6 separate regions of the Homo sapiens genome follow, and regions 1, 2, 3, 5 and 6 are each linked to region 4. Evidence: promoter capture Hi-C in 16 types of primary human blood cells and fetal thymus (Javierre and others, 2016). All regions are on one chromosome and are shown on one strand. The core of a region is centred on a gene start or on the middle of the fragment in contact, and the rest is flanking DNA. Distances in the headings are between cores, read along the strand shown. Region 1 overlaps FLT1 (fms related receptor tyrosine kinase 1). Region 2 overlaps FLT1 (fms related receptor tyrosine kinase 1). Region 3 overlaps FLT1 (fms related receptor tyrosine kinase 1). Region 4 holds the start of POMP (proteasome maturation protein). Region 5 overlaps FLT1 (fms related receptor tyrosine kinase 1). Region 6 overlaps FLT1 (fms related receptor tyrosine kinase 1).

Region 1 (2,700 bases), core at 171-2,670, 320 kb after region 4:
TGCCACCTGCCCCAAACATGCAAGGGTCTTAGGTGTGTAAGGAGAAAAGATCTGGATATTTCTCAGGCTCAGGACACTTTTCTTTTTAGATGGTGGAAGGCATTGTGGAAGAAAAACATTGATACTTTATCCCAAATAAAGCAAGGAATAAACCTCCAACCAAAATGCACCAGTTTTTACTAGTATAGAGAAGGCATCTGCCAGCGCTGTTCCCACACCGGATTTTCAGATGTAGCACTTTCAGGATCCACTGGAGGCTCTTTTATTTCAAATCGAGGGTCCCCATCCTGGTCTATTTCTTCAACAATTTTATGCGAAGAAGGAAGCAGAGGCTGTAGCTCTGCCCGTGTTGCATGCTCTGGGAGGAATGTCATTTAGTAATCACTACGGGAGCATGTTTCACAAAAAGAGAAACGTGTCGTCTCCCCAGTGTTCTCTCTGAATGCAGAGCATGTCCCTGCAGACAGCCACACAGAGGCCCTAATGATGACACTGGTATAAGTGAAATTTTCATACATCCTAACTGGACACCTGGGGTGGTGGGTAGTAGAAGACATTAAGCAGAGCAAGGTAAAGACATTTTTGTCACTGAGTAGTTGGGCATAAAAGTAGAAAGGTTCTAATATGATGAGGAAGAAGCAAAGCTTCATTACAAACTACAAGAAAATTTTTTAAAAATGCCCTTTGGGGAAAGGGAGTGGAGTAATGAGGAAGGAAGGGAGGAAAGAAGGTTCATTAACTGAAGGCACATTATCAGACGGGTCTAAGAAAGAGCACTTGGTTGGGAAAGGAGGGGTTGTGTTAAATTAACACTCTAACTGCCAGGATTTATAATAGTTTTAACCAACCAGTGGTATTCTGTCATTTCCCCTTCCCCCAAGAAAAGCCAAAAAAAGACTGACTTACTTCACTTACTCTTCTTTGGGTATATCATGCTGGAGGTGCACCATTTCTCTGGGTTCTATTGAGCTGTTTCCTGATGTGCAAAAGGAGGTTCCCTGATATAAAAGGCAGCTTAGGTACTCCAGGGAGTGCCCTCCCTAAAGGGCATCAATCTCAGGGTCTCCATCCCATGGGCCCCTCTAGTTACCTATGACTAGGAGACTTGCTTTGGGCAACCCACACATTCCTGAACACCACTCTCCATTCTGCAGCAATATTCAGTAATAACAGATAGCACCAGGCACCAAGTTAGGTTCTGGGAAGATTCAGACATGGTCCTTGCCCCCCAGAGTAAAGGGGGGCAAGGACTCCCTGGGTCATTCTAGGATAGGGAAAGAAACATATTAACAGTCATTATAGCATAGCATTATGGGGACCATGAAAGGAACCTTGCTTAGTTATTGCATTTAGCAACTACCTCTCTGGGGTTGAAACAAATCACTACCAGTGGTTGACCAGGCTCCTGTGCTGAACCACGAGGATTTGTAATCTTCACCTAAGACACATTAGAAAGACTGGAAATATTTTGCCTGGTAGGGAAGTCGGATAAATGACTTAGTGATTATTTTAAAGTTATGAGCATTATTATAATCCACAGTAGTAACCACCATTTTCTATTTCTCCCTTTTTGCTGAAAACAGATGAGAGAAAAATGACTGTAAATGGAAAAAGAAAAAGAGCTTAGGTTCCACACAGGGAAGTCTTCTTGGTCATAATGTTATTAAACAATGGAAGAAACTACACGGGACTTGGTCCCATCTCTCCTACGGGAGAACGCTGTGGAAAGGAAACTGGACATCTACCTTCACTGAATGCCTTCTAGGGACTTACTCTATCTTTGAAGGATGTGGGGCCTCAGGAACAGAGTTAAGAGTTGAAAGGAAGAGACTCCAGAAATAAGTCCCTTACTTTGTCTCTTTTAGGGTTAGTTCACTGGAGATTCCATGCCTCACATGCACACATAGGAAAAGGCATTTCCTTCCTGAAAAAGACTTAAACTCACCCTATTGCCTCGGCAAACAAACCAGTGTCTTCTCTTCATTACAGGCAAATCACTTGGAAGAGGGGCTTTTGGAAAAGTGGTTCAAGCATCAGCATTTGGCATTAAGAAATCACCTACGTGCCGGACTGTGGCTGTGAAAATGCTGAAAGGTATGTATGCTGTAGTTTGGCTTTCAACTGACCCATCACCATTTTGCATTTCCTAAATGTTGGTACAAGTTAGATATAGCCTGGGAACAGACACAAGCTTTTCTGCTCTGGACACATAATTTTCTTCTACTGCTAGAGGCCTCTTTGCTCACGAGTTTTAGATTAGGCCAGCACGAGCTCAGAAGAAACCTTGTAAATGGAACAATCCAGCACTGTCCATAGGAAAATGATCTCTGTCACCTCAAAGGTCTTTCTCATCTCACATCACAGACTGTAGACAACAAGGGACTTAAGCCCATTGTAACTGCAGGTTCAGATTTTGGCATGATCTACTGTGATGTTGTAATGGAAACTTAGCAGCACATTCTAAATCCCAATGGCTTTGCTTGGGCTTGACCTGACTATAAAGTAAAACTATAAAGCTAGAACAATTGAGTTGATCAGAACTCTAAACTATTTTATACTAACTACCTCAGCCATAAAACATTTCCTCTTTAGCAGTTTAAAAACCTGAATTATCTTTCTAGTGTTGAAAGATACTACTACTCTGTGAAGCACTGGGAGGTAGAACCAAATCACACAGTGACTTATGCCCAACACCAAAGA
Region 2 (2,700 bases), core at 90-2,589, 280 kb after region 4:
AAGAGGGGCTACTGGCAACCCTCTTCACAGTGGCACTGTAAGGAAGTAACATAAGTTGGCCAAGAATATATGGCAGAAGGCCTATCTAGTTTAGGTTTGCACTGACACAGGCACAAACCATCTCACAAGTGATTGTGCTCTGAAAGAGTCATTAAAAGGCTGAAAAAAGTAACAAACCCTCCCTCTCTGGAAATATTTGAGAAAACAGAAGGCAATCTTGATCTTAGATGTTCTTAGTAAAGCCTGCCTGAACCAATAAACCATCATCAAACTATTATTTAAGCTAAATTTTTATGATAGCAAAACATTTTTAGAATATTTTAAGGTTAAAGCAGTAGTATTAGAACAACAAAGAGTTCAGAAAGAGTAAATTCTGTCTTAAACAGACTGAGGGTGGAGCAGGAGAGAATCACTCTAACCCAATGATTAATACTCCTTCTTAAATGAAATCTTCTTGATCACTAGGACTAAGTGTTTATCTAACTGTTAGAGGACATCTTTCCTGTCACACTATATCACTGACACCAAATGTCTGCATCTGTAGGCACCATATTCAGATCCTAGTACCTAAGAGGACAGAATCACCTCTGAATTATCAAGTGATTTGACTAGATCCAGGAAAGATCTTAAGGAACCTTAGAAGAGAGAGAGGAATGAGGCTGTTAATACCCAGGGATGAAAAACTGACCATCTGTCACGCTCAGGCTACTAGAATCAGCAGTTTTGCTTGATTCCTTAATCAAATTCCTTAATGAAATTCAGAAATGTCAAATATCTTTTGCAAAACTTGAGTTGTAGTTGCCTTTTCCTTCTCATGAAATCTATCCTTACGGTACACAATGAATGAAGAACTATTATTGCAGAAAAGAAATGTGAACAAGATATCCAGGGTGTGCGCAGAGCAGTGCCTGTGAGGGTGAGCTGGCTGCTCTACTTAGCACCCCTGAGACCAGAGCTGATCTGCTGGTGTGATTAGCTAAGCAGCTGTTCTCGCTAGCCCTGTCTCTTCAATATGTGTCATTAAGGTCAGGGGCTCTCTACATCCAGATCAAGGAAAACCAAGCTTCACTGCTGATATGCAAGTAGCTCTTCTTCCCTGCCAGGACTATGTTGCAGAATCAAGGCTCAGTTCTTTTCCAAGGATAAAGTTCTTTTAGGAGGTAGAAGAAAGGAGAGTAATGAAGTAAGAGAGGTAGTGGGGTAACAGCATGCGAAAACTAACCTGTTGACATTGCCAAAGTTCAGACCTACAACACTCATCTCAGCCAACAGAGGGAACCTGACTTTAACACAGCCCTATCATGGCAAAAAAAAAAAAATTGAAAATGTTGCTTTATGCGCTTTCTGCAATTCTGCAATTACTTGTTAATGTTTGGCTAGTTCAATGAGATTGAAAAGTACAGTGGTAGAGTTCTATAATTTATATTCAGAAAAGTAAAGTAATCCATGAGTAAAGTTCCATTTTGAATTGGAAAGCAATAGAAGCTATTTATGAAGAATCAGTCAGCCCCAAAGTATCTCTTTTTATTGGCAAGATTCAGGTGATTTAGGTCTTGCACCTACATGCATAGGTATACACACACATACATAGCAATATATCCTATCCTAAAGCTTTGCCTAAAGAAAATTTCCTGGATGCATTTTACAGCATAACATCCTCATCTCTATTCAGCCCAGAAAAGCCTCCTGAAAGCTGCTGGCCACAGTAAGGTCCAACTGAGGGATCATGCATTGGTCAACACAAACATCTATTCGTATGAATAGCAGGGCCCCCTGCTAGTTGTTTAAGTTTAGTGGTGGTGGTAGTGGTGGTGGGGTGTGTGTGTGTTTGTTTGTGTGTGTTAGGTCCTATTAAATTTTTAAATGAAAAATTTAGGACATAAGAAATAGGAGGGCCGGGCACGGTGGCTCACAACTGTAATCTCAGCACTTTGGGAGGCCGAGGTGGGCGGATCACAAGGTCAGGAGATCGAGACCATCCTGGCTAACACGGTGAAACCCTGTCTCTACTAAAAATACAGAAAAAATTAGCTGGGCATGGTAGTGGGCGCCTGTAGTCGCAGCTACTCGGGAGGCTGAGGCAGGAGAATGGCATGAACCTGGGAGGTGGAGGTTGCAGTGAGCCAAGATCGCGCCACTGTACTCCAGCCTGGGCGACAGAGCGAGACTCCATCTCAATAAAAAAAAAAGAAAAGAAATAGGAGAGAACTTGTAAATGTGGGCATCACTTTAGAAAAAGGGTTTTTTTGGGTTTTTTCTTTATATTTTGTTTTGTTTTTTGTTTGTTTTTTGAGACATGGTCTTGCTCTGTTTCCCAGGCTGGAGTGCAGTGACATGATCGTGGCTCACTGCAGCCTCAACCTCCCGGGCTCAGGTGATCCTCTCACCTCAGCCTCCTGCATAGCTGGGACTATAGTCACATGCCACCATACCCAGCTATTTTTTTTTCTTTTGTAGAGATGGTGGTCTTTCTATGTTGCCCAGGCCTCATTTTTTTAAATTGTGGCAAAATGCACATAACATAAATTTTATCATTTTAACCATTTTAAAGTGTACAATTAAGTGGCACTAAGTACATTTACAATGTTGCAAAACCATCACCACTATCTAGTTACAGAACTTTTTCATAACCCCAATCGGAAATCCCATGCCCATTAAAGCTTCTCCTTTTTTGACTATGAATTAACCTCCTCTTTTGAT
Region 3 (2,700 bases), core at 17-2,516, 340 kb after region 4:
GTGTCCTTAGCAAGGATTTGCTGAGCTTCTCTGTGTGTTGTACGGTATGTTGAGATCTGTTGTAATCCCTGGGAATTTATTACTAAAACGTAGCTTTAAAGGGAGGAAAGAAACACTGAATTGTCCCCTCTTGGTCTTTTGTACCCTTAAGCCATAACAGGCCCTGTGTTTTCCACATTGTCTCCCGCAGGTGGGTCTCCATACCCAGGAGTACAAATGGATGAGGACTTTTGCAGTCGCCTGAGGGAAGGCATGAGGATGAGAGCTCCTGAGTACTCTACTCCTGAAATGTGAGCCCTTGGTGCCCTCTGCTCCCCATCTGACAGCTCGCTTTTCACCAGGGCATTCCTGAGAGGGGATGTTTTATGGATTCTTAGAGTCCCAGTCTTGGAAGATGCCAAGGTTCTTCTTTCCTTTAGAGATGCTCCCCTCAGCCCATCAGGCCCAGATATGCTGGGAGTGTTTTCTTGCAGTGGGGCACGTGGCCCTTGACCCATCCCTACCTATTTCCTGTCCTGACCACTGACATGACTTTTCAAGGGCTCTAGCTGGGAACTGAAGTTAGAAATTCAGTTTCTAGGTATGAATCCAGGCAAAACAAACAGACCACCCAGGAACTGAATGCAAGACCTTGGCCTCACTCACGGAGTGGGAGCCAAACAGGCCTAGCAGCCCCAGGGATGGAGGGCTAGACCTTGGTCTTGTGACCAGTCCTGTGTCTGCACAGAACACCCGTGAGGGGGTTGATGTGGTCTGCAGAACAGGTCTTGGAGAGGAAAAGGGGAACTTCCTGATGTCATGATTATGCTTCACAGAAGGCTTTGTGGGCAATACAACTTCTTTAGAATCCTTTGGGAGGAATAGGGGCCGGGCGCAGTGGCTCACATGTGTAATCCCAGCACTTTGGGAGGCAGAGGCGGGCGGATCACTTGAGGTCAGGAGTTCGAGACTAGCCTGGCCGACATGGTGAAACCCCGTCTCTACTAAAAATACAAAAGTTAGCCGGGCCTGGTGGCAGCTACTTGGGAGGCTGAGGCATGAGAATCACTTGAGCCTATGAAGCGGAGATTGCAGTGAGCCAAGATCACGCCACTGCACTCCAACCTGGGTGACAGAGTGAGATTATGTCTCAAAAAAAAAAAAAAAAAAGAACCTTTTAGGAATAGGCCCAGCAGCTGTCTGAAGCTGCCTGGTCAGATGGCTTTTCGGGTGTCCATGTGAGGCTTTCTCCACTGTGCAAATTGCACTTGCTTGCCTGTCTTGGACACTTTTTTTCCTGGGGCTTTGTGGATGTTTTGCACTTTGAGGCCTGAGCAGGAATGTGATGACACTTGCACTTTTGTGGAGCTGCTGACAAGGACTTGGGCCTCCCTGAGGCGGCACCACCTTTCCTGAACTGGCAGGGGCCCTCCCATTCCACCCACACAATGGGGTCCTGTCAGAAGCCCTGGCTGGCCTTTCAGAAGGAATCAGAGGGAATGCAGGAAGTGTGGGCTTGGCCAAAGGGCAAAGTCACTGTCTCTTTCCTTCATCATCTCGGGGTAAGGGTAGGTCAGACCCAGGATGGGGAACTGGACGAGGTGGACAGGAGACTCAGGCCCAACAGCAGGGCTGGGGAGCTCTGCCTGAGCGTAGGGAAGCGGGAGGGGACCTGTTCTTGTCACTGGTGCGTGGTGTCCTCATCAGAAAAGTACAGGGAGCTGAGGCAAGGCCTGTTTCTGAGAGCTGGGGATAGAGCTAGATGATTAACTTTATGATTTTCTAAGTGTTTTCCCACACATAGTCTCATTTGAAGTTCCCAGAGACCTTGAGGGGTGGTCAGGGCAGCTATTGTAATCTGAATTTAGCAAGTAATGAAACTGAGATGCCGAGAACTGAAGCAATGTGCCGTCTGTCAGCTGAGAAGCAAAGGAGACATTTAGAACCCAAGCCTCTGGACTGATGTCCCTAGACCACGGCTGATGAATTAGGAACAGACCCCACGTTCCTCAGTAGAAATGCTTCTCTGATATGGCCACTCATGCTTTGAATTAAATATGTCCTTCCAATCTTCATATAGTCTGAAAATCTCGAGAAAGTTCTCAATTACACTAATAGTTGTTATTATTAAATAACAATATTTTTACATCAAAATAAATGCAAAACAGTATGAAATTAAGTTTTATTTTTACTTCCATATAAATTCTAAATAGTATGAAATTAGTTTAGTTGGGTTTTTTTGTTTGTTTTTTTGAGATAGTGTCTCGCTCTGTTGTCCAGGCTAGAGTGCAGTGGCGTGATCTCAGCTCACTGCAACCTCCACCTCCTGAGTTCAAGTCATTCTTTTTCCTCAGCCTACTGAGTTGCTGGGACTACAGGCATGTGCCACCACGCCTGGCTAATTTTTATATTTTTTTGTAGAGATGGGGTTTCTCCATGTTGGCCAGGCTGGTCTCGAACTCCTGAGCTCAAGTGATCCACTGGCCTTGGCCTCCCAAAGTGTTGGGATTACAGGCGTGAGCCTCCATGCCTGGCCTGAAATTAGTTTTTATTATAACAGTATTGAATAGTACTGATTAAATAGTTATTTGGTGCTTATAAGTGCCACTATTTTAAGCATTAATTTATTTAATGCTCATAACAGTCCTATAAAGTAGGACTACCATGATCCCCATTTCACAGATGAGAAAACAGGCACCGCACATGTAAGTGATTTGCTCA
Region 4 (2,700 bases), core at 125-2,624:
AACACACCTAACCTACTAAACATCAGGCCTTAGCCTAGCCTACCTTAAATGTGCTCAGAACACTTACACTAGCCTACAGTCGGCCAAAATCATCTAATACAAAGCCTACTTTATTAAAAAGTACTGGGTATCTCATGTAATTTATTGAATACTGTACTGAAAGTGAAAAACAGAATGGCTGTATTGGTACTCAAATATGGCCTCTACTGACTGTGTATGGATTTCACACCATCATAAAGTCAGAAGATTGTTGAACCACCAGAAGTTGGGGACCTTCAGCAGAGATGTGTGATTGTTGCTTTCCAAATGTATCTTCTATTACTTCCCTATATGAACATTCTCCTCCTTCTGGACTGCTTTATTGTAAAGTAACAAGGTTTCAACGCACAAAGAAAAGGTGAATTCTGACTTCTGGATTCTGTTATTGTCATTTTTCCCAATTTCCTTCTGTAAAATATCAAGATTAGTACTTGCTGTTTCTAATAAAGGAAGGAGCCGAGAAAGGCAAATCTACGAAAACCTAACTACTAGTTACATTTGAGAGTGCCTAAAAAACTTTTTAGATAACGATTAGCAGTATTTACCAATAGAAACTTTCTAGATTTGGATGGATGGCCTACCAGCAGTACCGATATCAGAGTCTGTGGCAATGGTGACTCAGTGTTCTTCTCAAATACCACAACTTCTAAGTTAAAAAGAAAGAGAAAGTGGTGGGGAGGAGAAGGAGGGAGGAGATATACTAACAATACTGGCAAACAGGGAATAGCAACTGTCTGATTTTTTCCCCTCTAACATCTAGCACACTACAAGCTCTCAAAAAAGTTTGTAGAGCAAAGCTGCGTTACACAAATGCGACCTATAGTTGTGGGCTGTTTACTAGGCAGTTACAAGGGCGGGGGCTGGGGGAGATGAGGAGTCTGAGAGCTCTGGGCTCCCAGAGGTTACCCGTCAAGGAAAGGGTCGCCAGCGCCACCCCACAGAACGTTGCACTTTCACGGCTGCCTTTTCCACTTCTGCGCCAAGTAAGGGGAGGAGGTCTGGGCCTGCTGGGGTCTAAGGGATGGAAGGGCGCAAACCGAGCTAAGAGGAGCAGGATGAAGCCGAAGCACTGCTAGTGGGACTAGTGCCGGGCCCCGGCGACAGTCACGACCCACCCAAACCCCGTGACTCGACAGATTATGGCGCCTGAGGCCGGCCTCAGCCCCACGCTGCCGCCGCCGCCGCCACCGGGGACGGGTTGGGAGGCGACTGCCTGTTTCTGCCGAGCCACGGTCCCGAGCCCGCGTGGAACTCCAGCCGCCCGGGTACCCACTCACCATCTTCCGCAGCTCTGCGAACAGCCTCTCTGCCCCGTTACCGTCAGTCGACCCCGCCGCTCACTTCCGTTTCCGAGGGCTGGCCCCCACATCCGCCGGAAGTGCGTCCGTCCTGGCGAGGAAGGAAGGAGGGCGCGGGACGCCGGAGGGAGCTGCGCGGGGCCGAGGCTCCCACGCTTGCAATCCCAAGGGACCCAGGGCCAAGGGCGCAGTAAGGGTGTGGGCTGGGAGGAGGGAGGGGTCGGGACGAGACGTGCCTGAGGGGAGGGAAGACACGGACTCCGGTTTATTAATAAACATCTACGGTTTGTACGGCATTTTAAGATGTGCAGTGTGCTTTTGTAGGTACATCGCCTTATTTAACACAAAACCTCTCTGAGGTAGCTATTACATTTCACAGAAGGGTAAACGAGGCGTAGGTGGTTTGAGTGATTTGCTTGAGATCGTTCGGCTAATAAAGCAAAATTGGGACACAAGGCTTTTGTCATTTTTAAAAAACATAATATTGAAGGCCTGGTATGTTCCGAACCCTGTGCTGAGGCTAGGAATACAAAAAAGGACCAGGCCGGTGTGGCCTCTGGGCTAGAGGAGCAGGGGTACTCCGGAGGCTAGAGGGGAGAGAGGGGACGATAGTGACTACAAATTAAGTAAATGTGATCATGACCGACATATGTTGGGCCCTTTGAATTGCGTTATCAACACAGTTCTAAGTGCTTACATCCTTTATCTCTTTTAATCTTTTCAATAACCTTACAAGTACAATTTACAGGTGAAGAAACCGAGACATGAAGGGCTTAAATAAATATGCCTAAGGACATATTTATGAGTCTAGAATCCATGCTCATTACACTATTCTGTATTGTTCAAATATAATGTAATAAAACGGCCTTATAGTCTGCTGCCACAGGATGGAGACATCTTAGGGAATCTTTGGACTGACAGCTAAAAGATAAGAGCGAACTAGTTTGGGGTAGTAGGATATTTAAAACAACATTACGTGCAGATCTGCTTGTGCAAAAACGGAACTGGAAAGAAGGCCTAAGTCTGGCTAAAGTTCAGAAAGTAAAGTGGAGAGTACTGTGAGATGAGGTTGTAAGTAGATGGAGGCAAGTGGTTTTTGTTGTTGTTTTTGTTTGTTTGTTCTAAATAATGATAGGGTTTAGCTATGTTGCCCAGGTCTGCGTTGAACTCCTGGGCTCAAGCGATTCTCCTGCTGCAGCCGGCTGAGTAATGGGAACTACAGGCGTGCATCATGGGACCTAGCTACAGGTTTTTTATGCAGCCTTTGTAGGCAAGATTAAGGATGAGGCTTTGTCTTTAAAAAGCCATCGAAGGATTTGAGAGAGGAAAATGATAAGGCCATATATGTTATGTATATCCACTG
Region 5 (2,700 bases), core at 107-2,606, 260 kb after region 4:
CCTTGCAAAAGAGAGAATAATTTTTGTATGATCTTCAAGGAGGGAAATTCTTCTCTATCACCTTAAAGAATGATAATGTTAAGGGAGGGATTGTGTCATATTCATCTCTGTCTCTCTTACAACATCTGGGCAATGCCTTGATAATCACTCAATAAATGTCTGCTAAATTGTCTGCCACATATTGCAGACACTTTCATTACCAATAATTTCAATAATACACAGGGAGTATATGGGTAGGTGTAATTAAGCAGATCCTTCCAACAAACAGAAGAGAAAGCACTGTGTACTACTCACTATACCACAGTGAAAATTGTAGAGAATTTGGACCAATGAATTTGCTGGCTAAAAACATGAGGAACATGTGTTTAAGTCTTCCTGATCTGTAGATTAAAGACAGAAATACCTTAATTTATTAGATGGGATAAGAGAACACAACTAAAGTGCCTAGCACATTACTTAGAAACTCAAGAAAATGTTAGGACTCTCTCCTACAGCCAAACCACTTGTAGAGTATGTCCACCACCTTGGAAAGTCAGCTGTCACATTTCAGCCTTACATTACTTTAGCCTGTAAGTCACTTGTCATTATACTTCAGCAAGGACACTCTATTAGTCTGGAATCATTTGCACAGCCTCTGCAATTTCAAAGCCCATAACCAGTTATTTTTGTCCTAGGACATAGGCTGCAAAGATTTATAAGTAACTGGACTAACTTTTCTTTTCCATAATTTTAAGTATGAGAAACTAGCTTTCTCATTTTTTTCATATAGATTATACACTACTTTTTAATGCAAGCTTGGGTTAAATTTAAGAATGTTTAACAATTTGTTTCATATTGCCAATTTTTTTTCTTTGGAAGAATGCAAGTCTTTAAGTTGTCTAAAATTTTGTTTCATTACTTTTTAGACATCAGAATTTGGAAAGTGCTTTCAAGTTCATGCAATTTTGACTGCTAATGTTTCTTTAGGGACTAAGTTGTCAAATAATAGCACTAAAGTCTAGTGGAACAATATAATTGCATTAATTCATAATTTAAATTTTCATCTTCTAGATTAGGAATAGATACTTAATTTATTAAGAGAAATTAGGTAATTTACACACACACACACACACACACACACACACACACACACACACACGGTCTCCTTCAGGACCATCCAGTGCTGCATGCCACATTATTTGAGCATAGAAAAAAAGTTTCAAGCCAGGTACAGTGGCATGTGCCTGTTGTCCCAGCTACTTGGGAGACAAAAGCGGGAAAACTGCTTGAGCCCAGAAGTTCAAGGCCAGCCTGGGCAACATAGCAAGACCCCATTTCTTAAAAAAAAAAAAGTTTCAGCCAAACATTATCTTCTGTCCTTGCTCACTTAACATGCCTGTTATAGAACCAAACAGCAGAGAAGGCTCCTGTTATAACTGGCATCTATGCTCTCAGGTCACCCAAACAAAAGGGAAGGCCTCAGCCTCACCTGTTCCTCTCATTGATGTGGAACTGACCACCTCATAGGGTAGGACGTGCAGTCCCACATCTCAGCTTCAGGTCTGTAATTGTTACGCCAGCAGCACGAGATAAATAAGCCTGAAACCCTCATATGAGTCGGATGTCATAGGCCCCGGTCTCCTGAGGACCTGCTTTCCTGTTATTTTTCCATTCTTGTTGGGGCTCGGCAAGGGGAGAGCCTTCTGGTAACCACCACCTATGCAATACTCTCTTTGCAGAATGAATGGAGTAGCTGAATCATTTCAACCTCAGAAGTAGCTTGGGGTGTTCAATTAGTTATTTGTCCTGTTGCTAGCTAAAGTTTCCTTTTCTTTTGCAGATGGCTAGCACCTTGGTTGTGGCTGACTCTAGAATTTCTGGAATCTACATTTGCATAGCTTCCAATAAAGTTGGGACTGTGGGAAGAAACATAAGCTTTTATATCACAGGTAAGCCACACATCCTATAACCAGAGACAGCCTGGTGACTTCATTCTCTCTTCAGTCTTGTTTGCTTTTAGTGCATTTATAGCTTGAGTGATTTTTTTTTAATTCCATAGAATTGTCAAACTTTGAGTGCCTTCATCCTTGCTCTCAGGAATAGAATTCTACCTCATCGGATCTCGTAAGGAGTTATTTCCCTGTATTCTCTTTTAGAGTTATTTGTGTTTGTCTCCCTCCCAGACTGGATTATGAATTGGGAATCTTGTATGCTCATTTTTTCATTCCCTTCAGTACCTAGCACAGGGTCTGGTACATAGCAGTTCAATACCAATCAAGGAAACCAATTATAATGCATATAATATGATGACATCGTTTTTGGTTTTGTTTTTGTTTTAACCAAAAGGTTAATTTTTTTACAACTTAGGTAATTTAGACTTTTTGGGGAATGAGGCTCTGTAGCAATCTGAAACAGAGCTTTATTAACAATAGTTAATGTGCTATTTTTTGATAGCATTTAAGAATTTTTAGCCTTAAATATGATGGTCTCTGCAAATCTTAAAAACCTCCAAGGTACACAAATGGCACTCCCTATGTCCCTCAATGGGTACAGGAAGGAAGTAAGTAGCTCAAAGTATAAAAACAATTGCCTGGCTCCACACTCCCCCAATTTCTGAGGAAACATGGGCAGTAAGCCAACTTTCTGGAAACTTCTCACTGCCCGGGGCAGGCTGCAGAAATTGCCAAAAGTTCTCCAGAAAGAAATAGACATGTCCAATTC
Region 6 (2,700 bases), core at 140-2,639, 300 kb after region 4:
TATAAGGGTTCCCTTCTTTCCACATCCTCATCAACACTTGTGATCTTTTATCTTTTTAATAATAGCTAATCTAATAGGTGTGAGGTGCTATCTCATTTGGTTTTTTTCTTGTTTTTTGAGACAAAGTCTCGCTCTGTCACCCAGGCCGGAGTGCAGTGGCACGATCTCGCTCACTGCAACCTCTGCCTCCCCAGTTCAAGTGATTCTCCTGCTGCAGCCTCCCAAGTAGTTAGGATTACAGGCATTCGCCACCACACCCCGCTAATTTTTGTATTTTTAGTAGAGACTGGGTTTCATCATGTTGGCGAGGCTGGTCTTGAACTCTTGACCTCAGATGATCTGCCCACCTCGGCCTCCCAAAGTGCTGGGATTACAGGCATGAGCCACTGCACCTGGCCTCATTTGGTTTTGATTTACATTTTTGTGATTGGAGATGGTGAGTATTTTTTTCATATAACTGTTGGCCATCTGTCTTCTTTTGAAAAATGTCTATTTGATTTCTTTGCCCATTTTTAAATAGGATTATTGGTTTCCTTGTTATTGAGTAGTTTGAGTTCCTTGTATATTTTGGATATTGGCTCCTTATCTGATGTATGATTTGCAAATACTTTTTCCCAATCTGTAGGTTGTCTCTTCACTCTATTAATTGTTTCCTTTGCTGTGCAAAAGGTTTTTAGTTTGATGCAATCCCATTTGCCTATTTTTGCTTTCGTTGCCTGTGCTTTTGGGGTCATATCCAAGAAATCTCTTCCCAGACCAATATCGTGGAGTTTTTCCCCCACATTTTCTTCTAGTAGTTTTATAGTTTCTGGTCTTACATTTAAGTTTTTAATCCATATTGAGTTCATTTTTATATAAGGGATGAGAGAAGGGTCCATTTTCATTTTTCTGTATGTAGATATCCAGTTTTCCCAACACCACTTATTAAGGAGACTGTCCTTTCCCCATTGTGTGTTCTTGGCACCTTGTCAAAAATCAGTTGACCATAGATGTTTGGGTTGATTTCTGGGCCCTTGCCTATTCCATTGGTTGATGGATCTGTTTTTATAACAGTACCATGCTGTTTTGATTATCATAGCTTTATAATATTACATTTTCTTTTTTTAAGCTTTCAAATATTTCTCAACTTTTCTATATTGAGTACATCTTTCATAAGAGAAATACAAACTATTTAAACTAATGAAATACAGCCTATAGTCTGGCCAGGCCTGTTTTATCACTATTCTGGAACAAGTACTCAATTCCTGTTTATTTCCACATCATGCCATTTCTCATGCTTCCGTTTCTCATTTCACCTCTGACAATCCTTCAGACCTCAACTCGAGGCCCACCTCTTCTATGCAGCCTTCCCCAAGTACACCCTTCCTTACTGATCTCCTTCCCTGTGCCAGACCTTCCACTTAATTAGGTATACTGTGCTGTATTCACTCATTCTCATTCATTAAACATTTTCTATTTGTTGGCTTGTGTGTGTGAGTGTATGTGTTGAGCATGTGTGGGAGAGAGAGAATGTAAATGTGTGTGTTTGGTAGGAATTAATTTTTCCTTCTCAACAGATACCATGTCTTAGCCTGCCCACATCTTAGCCTGCTGTTTGTTTTGTAACACGAACTGATGGCAGAGTAAATACTCAACAGACCCTTGGTGATAGTACAAGGTATTGAAGCTTCAAGGTCTTGAAGCCTTTCAGGGGTCTGAAAATTCTTGGGACTCCTTCCACTACACTGTGCTCTGTAGTAATCCTTAAGCTTACATTTACTGAGCACTTACTATGTACCATGGGCTTGCCATTTACTATAGAGTAAGAATTACTTTCATTTTTATCTTAAGATTAAGGAAACTGAAACTTAGAAAGATCAAGTAACTTGCCTAAGTGACAAAGCTTGAAGCGCTAAGGCATGGATTAAAACACAGCCCAGGCAAACTCTTCATCACTAGGCTATATTGACTCACCAGGCCTTATGACAAATGAAATATTAGTTCCTTTGACCCATATGTCACAAATGTGCTTTCAGTCAAACTGCATGCTCTTGGTGAAGTTACTTAATCTCACAGAATCTCAGTTTCCTCATTTGTAAAAGGAAGACAATATTAGCTGACAGGCTGGTTGTAAATGTCAAGGTATGAAAGTGTGTCACATAGTGCCGAGCACACAGAGGGCGTTGAGTCAATGATAGTTGTTATTATTAGATATGCTGCCTTCTTGATATCTTCAACTTTCAAGTTGGGCATGGCAGCTGCCTCACATTTCTTTCTACAGGGTGGGTGGATTTGCATCTCCGAAGCTGGGGATCACAGCTCTGCTGGGTGGTGAAGGTGCTATTAGAAAGCCTGCAGAAAAAAAAAAAAAAAAAAAAAGGAAAGAAAAGAAAAAGAAAGCCTGGACCCAGAGAAAACAAATAAGCAACCCTGCCCCAGGTTCACTAGAGCTCGGATTTCCTTGTCTGAATGCATAATGATAGGAAGAAGGCTGTGTTACAGAAGTAGCTGTTTTTTGTTTGTCATCCAGGCCCACTAATCTAAACATCTCTCACCCCTCAGGAATTATTTTAGGACCAGGAAGCAGCACGCTGTTTATTGAAAGAGTCACAGAAGAGGATGAAGGTGTCTATCACTGCAAAGCCACCAACCAGAAGGGCTCTGTGGAAAGTTCAGCATACCTCACTGTTCAAGGTAAACAGCTGCTTAAGAAAGCAACAA

Evidence for each region. Contacts are between HindIII fragments. The CHiCAGO score rates a contact against its expected background, and 5 or more counts as called.
Region 1: a contact is called between a fragment that was not itself captured here and the fragment with the promoter of POMP in region 4, in 11 of 17 cell types (M1 macrophages, monocytes, M0 macrophages and 8 more). The highest score is 15.1, in M1 macrophages.
Region 2: a fragment that was not itself captured here is called in contact with the fragment with the promoter of POMP in region 4 in 4 of 17 cell types (M2 macrophages, monocytes, M1 macrophages and 1 more); the score reaches 7.0 in M2 macrophages.
Region 3: a fragment that was not itself captured here is called in contact with the fragment with the promoter of POMP in region 4 in 10 of 17 cell types (M1 macrophages, megakaryocytes, M0 macrophages and 7 more); the score reaches 16.6 in M1 macrophages.
Region 5: a contact is called between a fragment that was not itself captured here and the fragment with the promoter of POMP in region 4, in 7 of 17 cell types (M2 macrophages, monocytes, M0 macrophages and 4 more). The highest score is 14.2, in M2 macrophages.
Region 6: a contact is called between a fragment that was not itself captured here and the fragment with the promoter of POMP in region 4, in 7 of 17 cell types (M1 macrophages, monocytes, M0 macrophages and 4 more). The highest score is 9.8, in M1 macrophages.

The regions. Positions count from the first base shown.
Region 1 is chr13:28,333,419-28,336,118 of GRCh38, reverse strand. It overlaps FLT1 (fms related receptor tyrosine kinase 1), which reads left to right. Exons shown (of 30, transcript NM_002019.4): 18 at 1,990-2,094. Among named protein-coding and RNA genes, the nearest start is that of FLT1, 160 kb to the left of the region's middle. The HindIII fragment of the contact is 1,547 bases long and covers 647-2,193 here.
Region 2 is chr13:28,374,006-28,376,705 of GRCh38, reverse strand. The region is part of intron 14 of FLT1 (fms related receptor tyrosine kinase 1); the gene reads left to right. Among named protein-coding and RNA genes, the nearest start is that of FLT1, 120 kb to the left of the region's middle. The HindIII fragment of the contact is 548 bases long and covers 1,066-1,613 here.
Region 3 is chr13:28,315,088-28,317,787 of GRCh38, reverse strand. It overlaps FLT1 (fms related receptor tyrosine kinase 1), which reads left to right. Exons shown (of 30, transcript NM_002019.4): 25 at 191-290. The region is part of intron 2 of LOC124903141 (a long non-coding RNA gene); the gene reads right to left. Among named protein-coding and RNA genes, the nearest start is that of PAN3-AS1, 180 kb to the right of the region's middle. The HindIII fragment of the contact is 8,639 bases long and covers 1-2,700 here.
Region 4 is chr13:28,657,804-28,660,503 of GRCh38, reverse strand. POMP (proteasome maturation protein) reads right to left here and starts at 1,374. Exons shown (of 6, transcript NM_015932.6): 1 at 1,317-1,374. The coding sequence starts at 1,319. RefSeq lists a silencer at 1,442-1,501 and an enhancer at 1,722-1,881. The HindIII fragment of the contact is 5,788 bases long and covers 1-2,700 here.
Region 5 is chr13:28,396,188-28,398,887 of GRCh38, reverse strand. It overlaps FLT1 (fms related receptor tyrosine kinase 1), which reads left to right. Exons shown (of 30, transcript NM_002019.4): 12 at 1,820-1,928. Among named protein-coding and RNA genes, the nearest start is that of FLT1, 98 kb to the left of the region's middle. The HindIII fragment of the contact is 1,120 bases long and covers 797-1,916 here.
Region 6 is chr13:28,357,527-28,360,226 of GRCh38, reverse strand. It overlaps FLT1 (fms related receptor tyrosine kinase 1), which reads left to right. Exons shown (of 30, transcript NM_002019.4): 15 at 2,542-2,673. Among named protein-coding and RNA genes, the nearest start is that of FLT1, 140 kb to the left of the region's middle. RefSeq lists an enhancer at 1,761-2,070. The HindIII fragment of the contact is 558 bases long and covers 1,111-1,668 here.